Linked DNA regions of Homo sapiens: region 1 is linked to region 2. Evidence: promoter capture Hi-C in 16 types of primary human blood cells and fetal thymus (Javierre and others, 2016). All regions are on one chromosome and are shown on one strand. The core of a region is centred on a gene start or on the middle of the fragment in contact, and the rest is flanking DNA. Distances in the headings are between cores, read along the strand shown.

Region 1 (6,632 bases), core at 1,504-4,003, 3.4 Mb after region 2:
TATTGGACATCACCTAAAAAATTCATTCATTCTTGTTTTTTCACATCGAATTTCATTACTATAAATTAAGGAACATTTTATGTTTAAGAGGACAAAAACGTTATTAACATTTTAAAAAATGAGAGTTTTGATTCGAATCAATAACTTTTTATCAGTTTTGTGCCCCTGCTGGGCATTTTGTAAGCCTTGACAAGCATAGGCAAATGCCCTACGTCCGTCCCTGTTTTTCCAAGTGCTACATTTGGTGACTTCAAAAACAGTCATTGAAGCTTGATAATTATTGCCCCCTTCTGTGAGCTCCAAGTTACTTGTGCTCTGTTTTTGCACTTCGGGCATTCACATTCCCACTCTCTCTCTCTTTTTCTTCTTTGAGTAGACTGTGAATTATTTCAGGCAAATGACTCAATCTTTTCTGTAGTCTTGGTGTCTGACATATAGGGAGGGGCACAAATGTGTATTGAATGAATGAATTGATAAACCCGTTTAGACTCTTTCACTCTATACATTGTGTAAAGTTCTGTTAATGTTTTGAAAACTTGCAGATATTGTGAACTGGGTTTTATGCCCATGGAAAAATTTGCATTATATTTGAAATAAAGTTGCTAGAAACGTCAAGTATTTTACTATAAAGGCTGTTATTCTTTCCTCATGTCCTCCTGGTCTGAGAAATCACATCAGAAAGTGTTTCCTGTTGCTTTGTGGGAAATGTGTTTAGCAAGGAGGACCTAGAGCTGACATCCTCCTTGAACGAGAACTAATACTCAATAGTAACAATGCTCTATTCACTCTTATGTTTGATAAGGAAAACAAGAAGTCTCTTAATATTAGGACTTCAATGTAATCACTATTTTATACAATCTTAATTAAAAAAGGAAGTATTTTATTGTAAGAAATGATAATGTGTGCTAAAAAAAATTGACAGTAGAGGCCGGGCATGGTGGGGCTCACAAGTGTAATCCCAGCACTTTCGGAGGCTGTGGCGGGTGGATCACCTGAGGTCAGGAATTCAAGACCAGCCTGGTCAACATGGTGAAACCCCGTCTGTACTAAAAAAAAAAAAAAAATAAGACAAGGTGGGGGAGAAATCCCAAATTTTGCTACTCAGAAGTAACTCAAACATTTCGATGAATAAACTTCTAAACGTCTATATATATTCATATGATACCAACACTTGTTTTTTTTTTTGAGACAGAGTCTCAGTCTGTCGCCCAGGCTGGAGTACAGTAGAGTGGTCTCGGCTCACTGCAACCTCTGCCGCCCTGGTTCAAGCAGTTCTCTTGCTTCAGCCTCCCGAGCAGCTGGGATTACAGGCACCTGCCACTGCATCTGGCTAATTTTGTATTTTTAGTAGAGACAGGGTTTCACCATCTTGGCCAGGCTGGTCTTGAATTCCTGACCTCGTGATCCACCCGCCTCGGCCTCCCAAAGTGCTGGGATTACAGGCATGAGCCACTGCGCCCGGCCCCCACGTTATGTGTTGTATGTGGGATCATGTTTCTGTTTTTTTTTTTTTTTTTTTTCAGCAACAGTATTATGAACATCTTTCCATGTCAATACATGGAGATATGTGTCATAATTTTGAATGGCTGCATAATATTCCATTTTATATACATACCCTAATTTTTAAAATCTATATTCAGAATGATGGACATTTAGGTTGCGTTCATCACTGAAACATCCTCCATTAATTCTTTTTTCTTTTTATTTTTTACTCTAGCCTCCCAATGTGCTGGGATTATAGGCTTGAGCTACCACACCTGATTGGAAACTCATTAATTCTCCTTGTGGATATTTTTACATATGTATTTGAATGTCTCCTTGAAGTAAATCCTTAGAAATGGGATTTCTGGGTTAGAGAGAAAGCTTATTTTAAACAATTCCATATCTTACTGCTTTCCAGAAAAATTGCATTCATTTTCTAGTTTCCCCAATTAGTGCATAAGAATGGCCATTTTCTCATACCTTTCCAAGCACTGGGTTTTGTCCATTTAAAAATTTTTGCCAAGGAAAAAAAATCAGTTTTGTTCTTTTTACGTTTCTTGTTTATTAGTGAGATTATGTATCTTTTCATATTTTTATTGGCCTGACAAATATTTTGGTGTTTTGGCTGTAGCTCATGGTTGACAGCTCAGAGAGAGAAAGATCTGAGGGAAGATGGATGCAAAAGCTCGAAATTGTTTGCTTCAACATAGAGAAGCTCTGGAAAAGGACATCAAGACATCCTACATCATGGATCACATGATTAGTGATGGATTTTTAACAATATCAGAAGAGGAAAAAGTAAGAAATGAGGTAAAGCTCTCTGAAGCAGTCCACACTTCCTTAAAAATTTTTAGAATTTCAGAACTTGTACTGGTCTCCACTACTTTATGTTGCATACATATTCATTGTTGTATACTAAACTACTTAATTTTTTTTAGCCCACTCAACAGCAAAGAGCAGCTATGCTGATTAAAATGATACTTAAAAAAGATAATGATTCCTACGTATCATTCTACAATGCTCTACTACATGAAGGATATAAAGATCTTGCTGCCCTTCTCCATGATGGCATTCCTGTTGTCTCTTCTTCCAGTGGTAAAGATTCAGTTAGTGGAATAACTTCGTATGGTTTGTATCCATTATACCTTCTATCACTTTGCTATCAAAATTGCTTTGGGTTTGTCTTATTGTAGATGTAATCTTTTGAAGAGAGTGTGACCAGTTCACTGAAAACTGCATGTTAAAAAAATTGTAGTGATGTTTTCAATTTAAATATTTTTTATTTGCATCCACATTAACTCTCAACTTTTCTTCTTGCCCAGTGAACTGTACTGCTGAGATAATAATATGTCTACCCTAATTTTTAGAGACAATAAGACAATTTATAGGCCCTTGTTTATTTTCCAGTTCTATGTGTTTATAGAGTTTATAGGAAAAAATAAGAATCTTTAGAAATATATGTTCTTGAAAGGTATTCCATAAATGTTCTTCCTTTTACACTTGCCTTCCCAGTCTTCAATATGAGAGGGAATGAAAAGTCAGGAAATAATTGGGTGAGTAAAGCAGATATAGATAGAAACTTCCATTTTCTTTAGTCATCTTGAAGGATATATGTTTGTCTTTGCTCTCTGTTGTCTGAGAAATCAGAAAATTGAAGTTAATATGCTAGCCACATTTTCTTAACTTCTCTTGGAAATTTTCAGGCTAAGCCTCAGCTTTGCTCTTTGTTTTTTATGGTATTACTTCAGTAATTATTCCAAAGTTCTATTCATTCATGCTTGTTTTGTTTTGGATTTTAGTAAGGACAGTCCTGTGTGAAGGTGGAGTACCACAGAGGCCAGTTGTTTTTGTCACAAGGAAGAAGCTGGTGAATGCAATTCAGCAGAAGCTCTCCAAATTGAAAGGTGAACCAGGATGGGTCACCATACATGGAATGGCAGGCTGTGGGAAGTCTGTATTAGCTGCAGAAGCTGTTAGAGATCATTCCCTTTTAGAAGGTAAGTGTCTTAGTCCATTTCATAGTCTAGTAAGGTAGATAGACATGTAAAAATATTATGATATATCAATACGTGATAAATTGAATGGTAGAAACAAGTATAAGGTACAGAGTTAGAACAAAGGAAGGATATGTTAACTCTCTGAAGGGAGGGGATGGATAGGACAAGCTTCCTGAATGAGATGACATCTTAGCAGGAGTTTGGAGAAAGAATAAAAGTTAGCTAGGCAGTGAAGGTAGGGATGGGAGACTAGGGAAGGTGGGAAAGGTAGTGGGTGGTTACTGGGGTGGGGAAGGGCATACTGGGTAGAAGAGGGTTTAAGAAATGTTGGCAGGTATACCACTGACCTTAGCGATCCTGGTAGGTTCTCAGGGTATTCATCAGGAATAGTTGTATAGCTCCATCAGTTCTAGGCTGCCCCCATTCATCAGTGTGTTCTCATTCATCAGTGTGTTCTCTCTGTATGACACTTCTAGGGGAATTCAAAGACAGTTCCCAACTTCTAGTAGTTAATAATTTTTTTTTTAGTAGGCCAGGCACGGTGGCTCATGCTTGTAATCCCAGCTGAGGCGTGGATCACCTGAGGTCAGGAGTTCAAGACCAGCCTGGGCAACATGGTGAAATCCCGTCTCTACCAAAAATACAAAAAAAATCAGCTGGGTGTGGTGGTGAGCACCTGTAATCCCAGCTACTCGGGAGGCTGAGGCAGGAGAATCACTTGAACCTAGGAGGCGGAGGTTGCAGTGAGCTGAGATCGCACCACTGCACTCCAGCCTGGTCAACAAGAGCAAGACTCCATCTCAAAAAAAAGTTTTTTGTTTTTTTTTTTTTGATATGTATGTATAACATGATCTACGGTTAAGACAGTTTAGACAGAATGATTGGAATAAGTAGTAAGCCTCTAAGAGACTTAGAAATATGGAGGCTAGGGTATATCTATGTGTACACATGGCCTCAGTTTAATTTCATAGCCTTTGTAAGTGGTATAGACTATACTCTTGTCAGAAGTATGCCTGATTCCTAACCCTTGGTTTTTCCCCTCTATCATTACAGAGAAGTTTCCTGAGACTTAGCTCCTTTCAAGTCTCAGAGCCAAGGATTTTTTTAAGCCCCTACTGCAAAGTTGATCACTAAGGATATTTCAGGATAAATTTAGCTTAAGTTCCTTTAGTGTGAAGGAATGAGTTTTCCTTTCAATATTATGAACTTTCTTTGTGTATTTATAATATTCCAATTTATAGGTTTAAAAGAACACTCCCTCTCCCCATTTAAATTGCTCTACATTATTGTGATGAATTTTCAATTCTAGGGATTAAAATTGACTAACAATCTATGGAATTAAATATTCAGGAGTCATATTGTATAAATTGTTATCTTGGAACAGGTTTTAACTACTTTGTTTTGAGAAAATCCTAGAGATACTGGCAACTGTACATGTGAGCTTAATTCATATTCCTCGTACTTTTGTGGGATCTCAAGTTCAGAGGACTGAGTTATTCATATTCCTTAGTTCACGGCTTATTATAGTAGATCTGTACTAGGCTGAGCTTTTCACTGTATTTATTTATTTCCATTTCAAAATTTCCTATTCTTATTTCCTTTCCCCTCTCCATGGACAATCCTAATGTATTTAATGTATGTTCTTTGTAAATGTCTGTGTAAAGTGTGTACTCTTGTAAAATATGTATGTTGTTGGTATGCAGGTATTTTAAATTTGCATAGATGTTATGGTATTATTCTGTTTTTTATCTCCCATGACACAATGTTTTTAAGATTTATCCTTGTTGCTATGTATACATGTTATTTGTTACACCTGATTGCCACCAACCCATTTTACTGCTCATTACCCTAAGTAAATGGATATGTAGATTGTATCCAACTCTCTGCTGCTGCAGCAAAGCTGGGTTGAACTTCTATGTGAGTAAGAATTTCTTGGGTATTTGTAGCTAGGAGCAAAATTAGTAATTATTTATTTATTTTTGTTTTTTTTTAAAGAGACAGAGTGTCACCCTGTTGCCCAGGCTGAGTGCAGTGGCCATATCATAGCTCACTGCAGCCTCAAACTTTTAGGCTCAAGTGATCCTCCCACCTTAGCCTCCTGAGGAGCTGGGTGCACACGCCACCATGCCTGGCTAATTATTTATTTATGAAACAGGGTCTTGCTTTGTCACCCAGGCTGGAGTGCAGTGGCACAATCTTGGCTCCCTGCAACCTCTGCCTTCTGGGCTCAAGTGATCTTCCCACCTCAGCCTCCGGAGTAGCTGGGACCACAGGTGCATGCTGACACACCCAGCTAATTTTTGTATTTTTTGTAGAGTTGGGGTTTTGTCATGTTACCGAGGTTGGTCTCGAACTCCTGAGCTCAAGCAATTCACCCACCTTGGCCTCCCAAAGTGCTGGAATTGCAGGTGTAAGCCACCATGCTTGGTGTGTTTTTAAACATTTTTTTGTAGAGACAGGTTTTTGCTATCTTGTCCAGGCTGGTCTCAAACTCCTGGGCTCAAGTGATGCTCCCGCCTTGGCCTCCCAAAGTGCTGGGGTTACAGATGAAAGTCACCATGTCCAGCCAAAATTACTAAATGATAGGATATACAAATACCAAATTTGATTCCCCTCCAGTCTGTACATTTCCCCCAGATGAGTATGGGGACTCCGATAATTCTACTTGTGCAGTGACGGTTGGTATGATCCAGCTTTGTAATTTTTGCCAGGCAAACTTCTATAAAGTTGTGTCTTTTACTTTGCATTTCTCTGGTAACTCAAGTTTGAACATTTCTTCATAAGCTTGTTGTTAGCCTTTTGGGTTTCTTTTTTTATGGATTTTGTTTATATTATTTGTCTATTTTCCATTGGGGTTTCCAATTTTTTTTTCTTTTTGCTTTTTAGGAGTTTCTTATATATTCTAGACATTAAACTTTGTTGGTTTTAGACTTTTATTTTATTTTATTTTATTTTTTTTGAGACGGAGTTTCGCTCTTGTTGCCCAGGCTGGAGTGCCATGGCGCGATCTTGGCTCACCACAATCTCTGCTTCCCAGGTTCAAGCGATTGTCCTGCCTCAGCCTTCTGAGTAGCTGGGATTACAGGCACCCACCACCACGCCTGGCTAATTTTGTATTTTTAGTAGAGACGGGGTTTCTCCATGTTGGTCAGG
Region 2 (6,339 bases), core at 2,814-5,313:
CTCCGTCTCCATGAAAACAAAAAAAATAGTTTCGTAAAATGAAGAGTTCTTGAGATTGGATGTACCATGTGAATGTACTTAACACTTCTGAACTATACACTTAAAAATGAGTAAGACGGTAAATTTATCTTATGTGCTATTTTACCACAGTTGGAAGAAAACTTCATCTCTCATCAAATTAATCTTTTACTTTCCGTATCTTAGAACCTTGTCAGAAGCTTTAGGGTCATTTAAATATCATTTTTAAAAAATCCCTGGTACCAATTTTACTCTTTTTAAAAAATGCGTTTTGTACACAAATCTGCTTCCAAGAGATATAAATTCCTGTTCTAGTGTCACAGAAATTCAATTAACTACGTATGTGCTGGAGTTGATTCCCAATAAATATAGCAAAGTCCTATTACGTACATAAAACCCTCAACGCATACTCACTGAATTCAATTAATAACTGTGAACTTGGGCTTGCCATTGTTAGTTAACTGTGTATTGAAGGAAGTCACAGACATAACTCAGGGAGCTGGCTAACCTAATTGTGGGCCTTGTACAGACCTGGCTGCCTCACTTTCCTTCCTTATAAATGGGGGAGTTGAACAGGCCTCTAAAGCCCATAGGAATCTGAGATGATAACTTCTGAGACACTCATTTCAGAAGAACCTCATGTACTGTGGCCTCTGTCTCCTGCGTTGATGTTTTTTCAGTTCACCTTTGTCTGTGTTCAGCATAAGACACAAGCTCCAGAAGGGCAGGCACTTTGTCTCATTCACTGATGTATCCCAGTGCTAACAACAGGGCCTGGGAATAATCACAGCTGCCACATACACATACTCTTTAATATGTCTCCATAACAGAAAATTTCTTCTTTAAAAATAATCACATTCAAAAATGTACATCCATTTTAATGTAGAATAATATTTTGAAAAGTTAGCAGGAATCAATTTCAATACGATTATTGAAAAATTCCTTAATTATTAATAGGAACAAGTGTTCAACTAAGTCACTGGTAGAGCAATATCCAAAATCCTTCATTATTTTTTTTTCATGGCTCTATTTTGGAAGAAACACAACTCAAAAAATAATAAGCCATTATATTATGGTCTACTCCAATGTGAAATAAGTGCATGACATTTGGCAATAAATCTAGCACCTTTGGATCTTAATACTGCATCAACAGTCAGACCCAAAGCTTCTTAGAGCAAAGCAGCAAATCTTTTATTTACACAGCTGTTTGGCTCCAGGGAAATATAAGGTAAGAAAGTAAAGCACTAGTACCATTTTACTAACTATTACAAACATACTCGTCATCTGTTACACACAGATGGCTGTGGTTCACGTGTACACTCTCTGGCTACTGGACCAGCCAAAACGCAAAGCACAGACAATGAAGACAGTGACCTGTACATGTTCAAAAGGACACAAAATATATACCTATATATACCTATAATTCTCTCTCCTTTTTTCTTTTTTTTTTTTTTTTTTTGAGATGGAGTCTTGCTCTGTCACCCAGGCTAGAGTGCAGTGGCTCGATCTCGGCTCACCACAACCTCCGCCTCGCTGGCTCAAGCAATTTTCATATCAGCCTCCCGAATAGCTGGGACTACAGGCGCACCCCACCACACCTGGCTAATTTTTGTATTTTTAGTAGAGACAGGGTTTTGCCATGTTGGCCAGGCTGGTCTCAAACTCCTGACCTCAAGTGATCCACCCGCCTTGGCCTCCCAAAGTGATGGAATTACAGGCTTGAGCCACTGCGCCCAGCCTCTCCTTTTTCATATACAGCTTAAAATAATTCTGAAATCTCCACTAAGGGCAGATTATTTTATAGATGTAGAAAAACAAAGCAAGCTTTTCTGCTGGATACATATAACCTAGATGTTCTACAACATTCCTTTTATTTTCTTAAATTAAACCAACCCTTCCAAATACCACAGATTAGATTCAAAAGCAAAAATCCCCTCCCTTAACTTCAAGTAACTTTCCTAAACGTTTCAATGAATTTGACTATTGTTCCCAAAAAGCACCATAATCAGCTTGTAAGAACTATGTATACATATAAGAATGGGTAGAAATAAAACCCCAGTTCTCTTCCATATTCCCCATCTAGACACCAGAAAGAATTATGATAAATCCAACAGATGGGTGAGCAAAAAAGTAGTTGATGCTTCTCAGCCAGCAATGCTAAAAACCAACCAACTCGGCTAGACACAGGAAGTGTCCCACTTTAAACACCACAAAAATTTCTGTGGATTTCTTTAATTGTAAAGTTGATAAAATACAAAAATAGCTTGCATTATTTTAGGATAATTCAAATGCAAGAATCATGAACTTCCAGTCTGGGCCCTAGAAATTGGGTTTACATAAATGTGAAATTACATGCTTCTGTGCCTGTTCCTTATAAACTGTTAAGACTGGAATTGAAAACTGATACATATAAGACACGGTTATTTTAAATACATTTGACACCTCCAAAAAGGAAAGAGCTAAAACTGGCTGGAAGGATTTTAAAATTTCCAACCACTTTTAATTTAAATCAATTTCTTGAACGAAGGTAAGGCACAGAAATGTAGGATGAAAATAATTTACCTTATGTAAGTATAAAGCCTCCCTTTGGCAAAGAAAAGAGAGTTTATAAAGATATCTCATATAAGTGCATATAACATCAAAAAGGAAAGACCCACACAACACCCACTTCTTGCTTTCTTTTCCTATTGGCTAACTTCTTGTTTCGTTTGTTGTAATCTGATCACAGGGAGCAATGCAACACTACAATATATCTAGGCTTTAGAAATAATACAAATCAGAACATTTGAGTGCTGTTGGACAGTTTCAAGTTGCAAGAATTTTAAACAAATGCCAAGAAAAGCAATGAAAATTTAATCTGATACTTAAGTGCTGATTCTGGAAGTAACCTTGAGAAGAAGCTTTAAACTATTTCACTATAAAATTTCTAATGAAAGTTTCAACGTGGACAAAAACGTAAAATAACCCATAACACTCTACTTAATACATAAGTTCTGGTTTAAAAATTAACCTATGTACTTACGAAGTGAACGTAACACCACTTTGGTAATTATTTTGTAAAACAGAAATTGTTCCTTAAGAATGTTCAGAAACACAACGTCTAGAATTGCTGAAAATCCACACAAAGATAGAGGCTTTGTCATTTGGATGAAGGGGAAAGAACTATGGGAGGCAGACAGAAAATAAAGCTTTGTTTACCCTAATCAGGTAGAAACAAACAAAATAATTGTAATTGGGTGCAGACAAGCAAAAAAAAAAAAAAAAAAAAAACCTCAACAATCTCAACTCCTCTGCTTCTCAGGTAACAGAGGTAAAACCACCAGGACATGACAATGTCTACGCCTCTTTAAAATGGGTAAAAGGTTTACCAGCAGATACAAGGTTGAAAGCGACTCACTTAGTGGCCAAATTGAACACGCTGAGAACACTGCCTTTACCTATAATAACTGATCTATTAACTTGGGAATCTACACTATTTTCACATGCAAAGGCGAAGTCCTCGCACTGCTGGAGAGATGAGCGAACGCCCTTCACACATCGCATTTCACCTGGTGCAGAGCCCCCAGCACAGTCCCCCTTGGAAGGGAGATCCCGAGAAATCCCGGGTTTCCAAACAGCCCCTCTGGGCAGGAAAAGACGAGAAAGCCGGCAGCGAATCCCATTAGCTCCGCGCTTGCCGAGGTGCTCGGCAAAGGTACGGGGCACACAACTCGCCCACCCCGGCGAAGAAAGTTGCTCGCGAGCCCAAGCCTAGCAGCGCTCGCCACAAACTTTCCCGCGGCAGCGCGAGCGCCGTCACTTACCGGCTGCAGAAGTCATGATTCCCCGGTGCAGCTCGCTTCCCCGCTCGGCCCCTCAATCCATCTTCCCCTTTCAGTCCATTGTTCCCACAGTTCGGGTAGGAGAGAAAAGCCCCCGCAGCGCCCACATTCCGTCCCGCCGCCCCGCGGCGCAGCCTGAGCGCCACACAAAGGACGCGGCCGACTCTAGCGACCCTGCGGCGCTCCCGGGCGCGAGCCGCCGGGGTCGGGCGGGCGAGCACTAGCACCGCCCCGCAGAGCGGCAGGCTGACAGCCAGGCGCGGGCACGAGCAGTGCTCTCTTCGGCTCCGCTGGCGCGTGCCCTTCTCGGGCTCCAAAAATCAGCAGTGCTCCGGGCGCCCCCTGCTAGTCGCGGCCGTAAAAGGCAGACAAAAGCCCTAGCCTCCTCCAATCGGAGGGCTCGAGCTTCAGCTCGCTCCCGCCTCTCTCGCTTACACGCTCACTCTCTTCTCCAATAAGCGGGCTCGAAAAGGGGGCGTGAGCGGCGAGGCATATTGGGAATTGTAGTTTTCTGGACCCACGGGACGGGCAGGAGCTGGAGCTCCGTGCCGCCTGTACTCCCGCCTTCATTTCCCATCGTGCTGAGGCGGGTGGCATGGCGGAGAAGGATGACACCGGAGTTTGACGAAGAGGTGGTTTTTGAGGTAAGAGGAAAATGGCGGTGGGTGTGGATTGCCTTTGTTTGAGAAGGACGAGACGGAAATCGAGGAAGCAAGGCGTTCCCGGGGCGAGGGATCGGGTGACGCGCTCCAGCTGGCCTCGACCACCGAACCCCAGCGATTTCAGGGCCTAGAGTCCGTCGTCGCCTGACAGGTGTAGCCAGAGGCGCCCTGGCCGTGGCCGGCCTCTATCTCGGGCCCGCCCAGAATTCCCAGACGGTGCCCGGTTGCCAGGCTCTGGGCTGGAGCGGTGTCTCTTCCTTCCTGGGAATGGATGTGCGGCGGGGGGGACTGCGCCCGGCTGGGGCGGGGCCGAATCGTGCCTTTTAGATAGTCACAACTTAGCCTCCTCCTTTTCCATCCGCGATTTTTTTGGGTCAGTATCCAGAGTGCTTCAGGTCACTGTTCACCGTCAAGGCGTGGCCCTCGGAATGAAGGCAGCAGGTGCCCGTTTTCTAACACGGTTTAAAGTCTATTTGTGGGACCTACTGTGGGTAGTTAGGGCCAGGGCATCTCAGCATCTAGATTCGATTCTTTTGTCCTTTGCTGTTGCGCTAGGTGTAGCCAGTTCTTCTGACTCGGGGCTCTAGATGTGAGTGCTTTTGTGTGGGACTATTTTAAGACGTTCTCTGCCATCTTGAATGAAAAAAATCGGGCGAGTGTTTTTGATGCCATTTTTTTCCATCAGACACAGGTCAAAACTCGCACCCCTGTACGTATGTGTATTGCATGTATACGCTTTACTTTCATTTATCCAACTAGATTTTAAGAAAATTTAAAAATGAAGTGGCCCATGCCATACAGCGAGAGAGCGAGGCACAGACAGGACAGAATGCTAAATGTTGAAATATGTACAAACTGTCATTGAAGGATTAATTTCTGTTCTTGCGGCCTCCCAGAGGCTACACCCAGTACGCGATATCCGAGGTGAATCTTTAACTATGAATTGGATTAGAAAAACCGGCAGGAGAAAATGTATTACAGGGAAAGAGAACTGATTATGCCAAGCTTGGGAAGTGTGAAAGTACCTGGTGTGCATTTTTAGGGGGCGGGGTGTGGAGGGTGGCTATGTAAAGTGGCTTGATGTGGCTGCAATGAAGAAGCAGTGGAAAATGTGGCCATTTTACCGAAGTGAAGAGTCTAGATATGAGGCGTTCATTAGGGAAGACAAGGGCCTGAGATGAAATGAGAGACGTAATGGAATAATGGCTTGGACAGACACTTGTAAGTTAAAATCGAGGCAATGTTTATAGATTGAATGTGGTAGCTGAAGGAGAGAGAAATATTTTCTAGAGTAAGGGTAACTGATGGGTGTATTTTTTTTACCCATTATTTTTGATTTCTGAATATAATAGTAATATATGCTCAAGGAACATTTTATTGTAGAAAATAAGCCCCCAAGTTAAAATCATCCATTATCCCACCACCCAAAGATGGTAACTATTAACAGTACGGTATGTGTTCTTATAGACTTTATTTCTATGTAAATGTGTGTTTATGTGTGTGTAATTTTTTAGCCTCTATATTAAGACACAATGTGTGTGTGATATTTTTTAAAACAAAAGGTATACCACGTAGAATTTTGTATATATTTTTCACTTGACTTTATCGTGAATCTTTTCCCATTCATCATTCTCTGAAAACATTAATATTATAATATCCCCTCACGTGTATCATAATATAACCTTTTTTTAAAAAAATACCATTGTAATCAACAGTGATATAAGCCTATTTTTAACTACAACTCTGATTTTCCTCAGAATAATTTTTAGAAGTAGAACTAGTGGGTGAAAGAATATGAACATTTAAGACTTACGCAGAAAGGTTATACCAATTCCGGT

The links. Contacts are between HindIII fragments. The CHiCAGO score rates a contact against its expected background, and 5 or more counts as called.
Region 1: a fragment that was not itself captured here is called in contact with the fragment with the promoter of FGD6 in region 2 in 2 of 17 cell types (total CD8 T cells and naive CD4 T cells); the score reaches 7.8 in total CD8 T cells.

What each region holds. Positions count from the first base shown.
Region 1 is chr12:98,646,206-98,652,837 of GRCh38, forward strand. It overlaps APAF1 (apoptotic peptidase activating factor 1), which reads left to right. Exons shown (of 27, transcript NM_181861.2): 2 at 2,114-2,292; 3 at 2,421-2,610; 4 at 3,282-3,479. The coding sequence starts at 2,155. Among named protein-coding and RNA genes, the nearest start is that of APAF1, 4.2 kb to the left of the region's middle. RefSeq lists an enhancer at 3,158-4,357. The HindIII fragment of the contact is 1,784 bases long and covers 1,862-3,645 here.
Region 2 is chr12:95,213,404-95,219,742 of GRCh38, forward strand. FGD6 (FYVE, RhoGEF and PH domain containing 6) reads right to left here and starts at 4,064. Exons shown (of 21, transcript NM_018351.4): 1 at 3,822-4,064. The coding sequence starts at 3,837. VEZT (vezatin, adherens junctions transmembrane protein) reads left to right here and starts at 4,404. Exons shown (of 12, transcript NM_017599.4): 1 at 4,404-4,483. The coding sequence starts at 4,448. RefSeq lists enhancers at 567-646, 3,728-4,322, 4,323-4,918, 4,383-4,622, 5,223-5,272 and a silencer at 3,923-4,152. The HindIII fragment of the contact is 2,300 bases long and covers 3,205-5,504 here.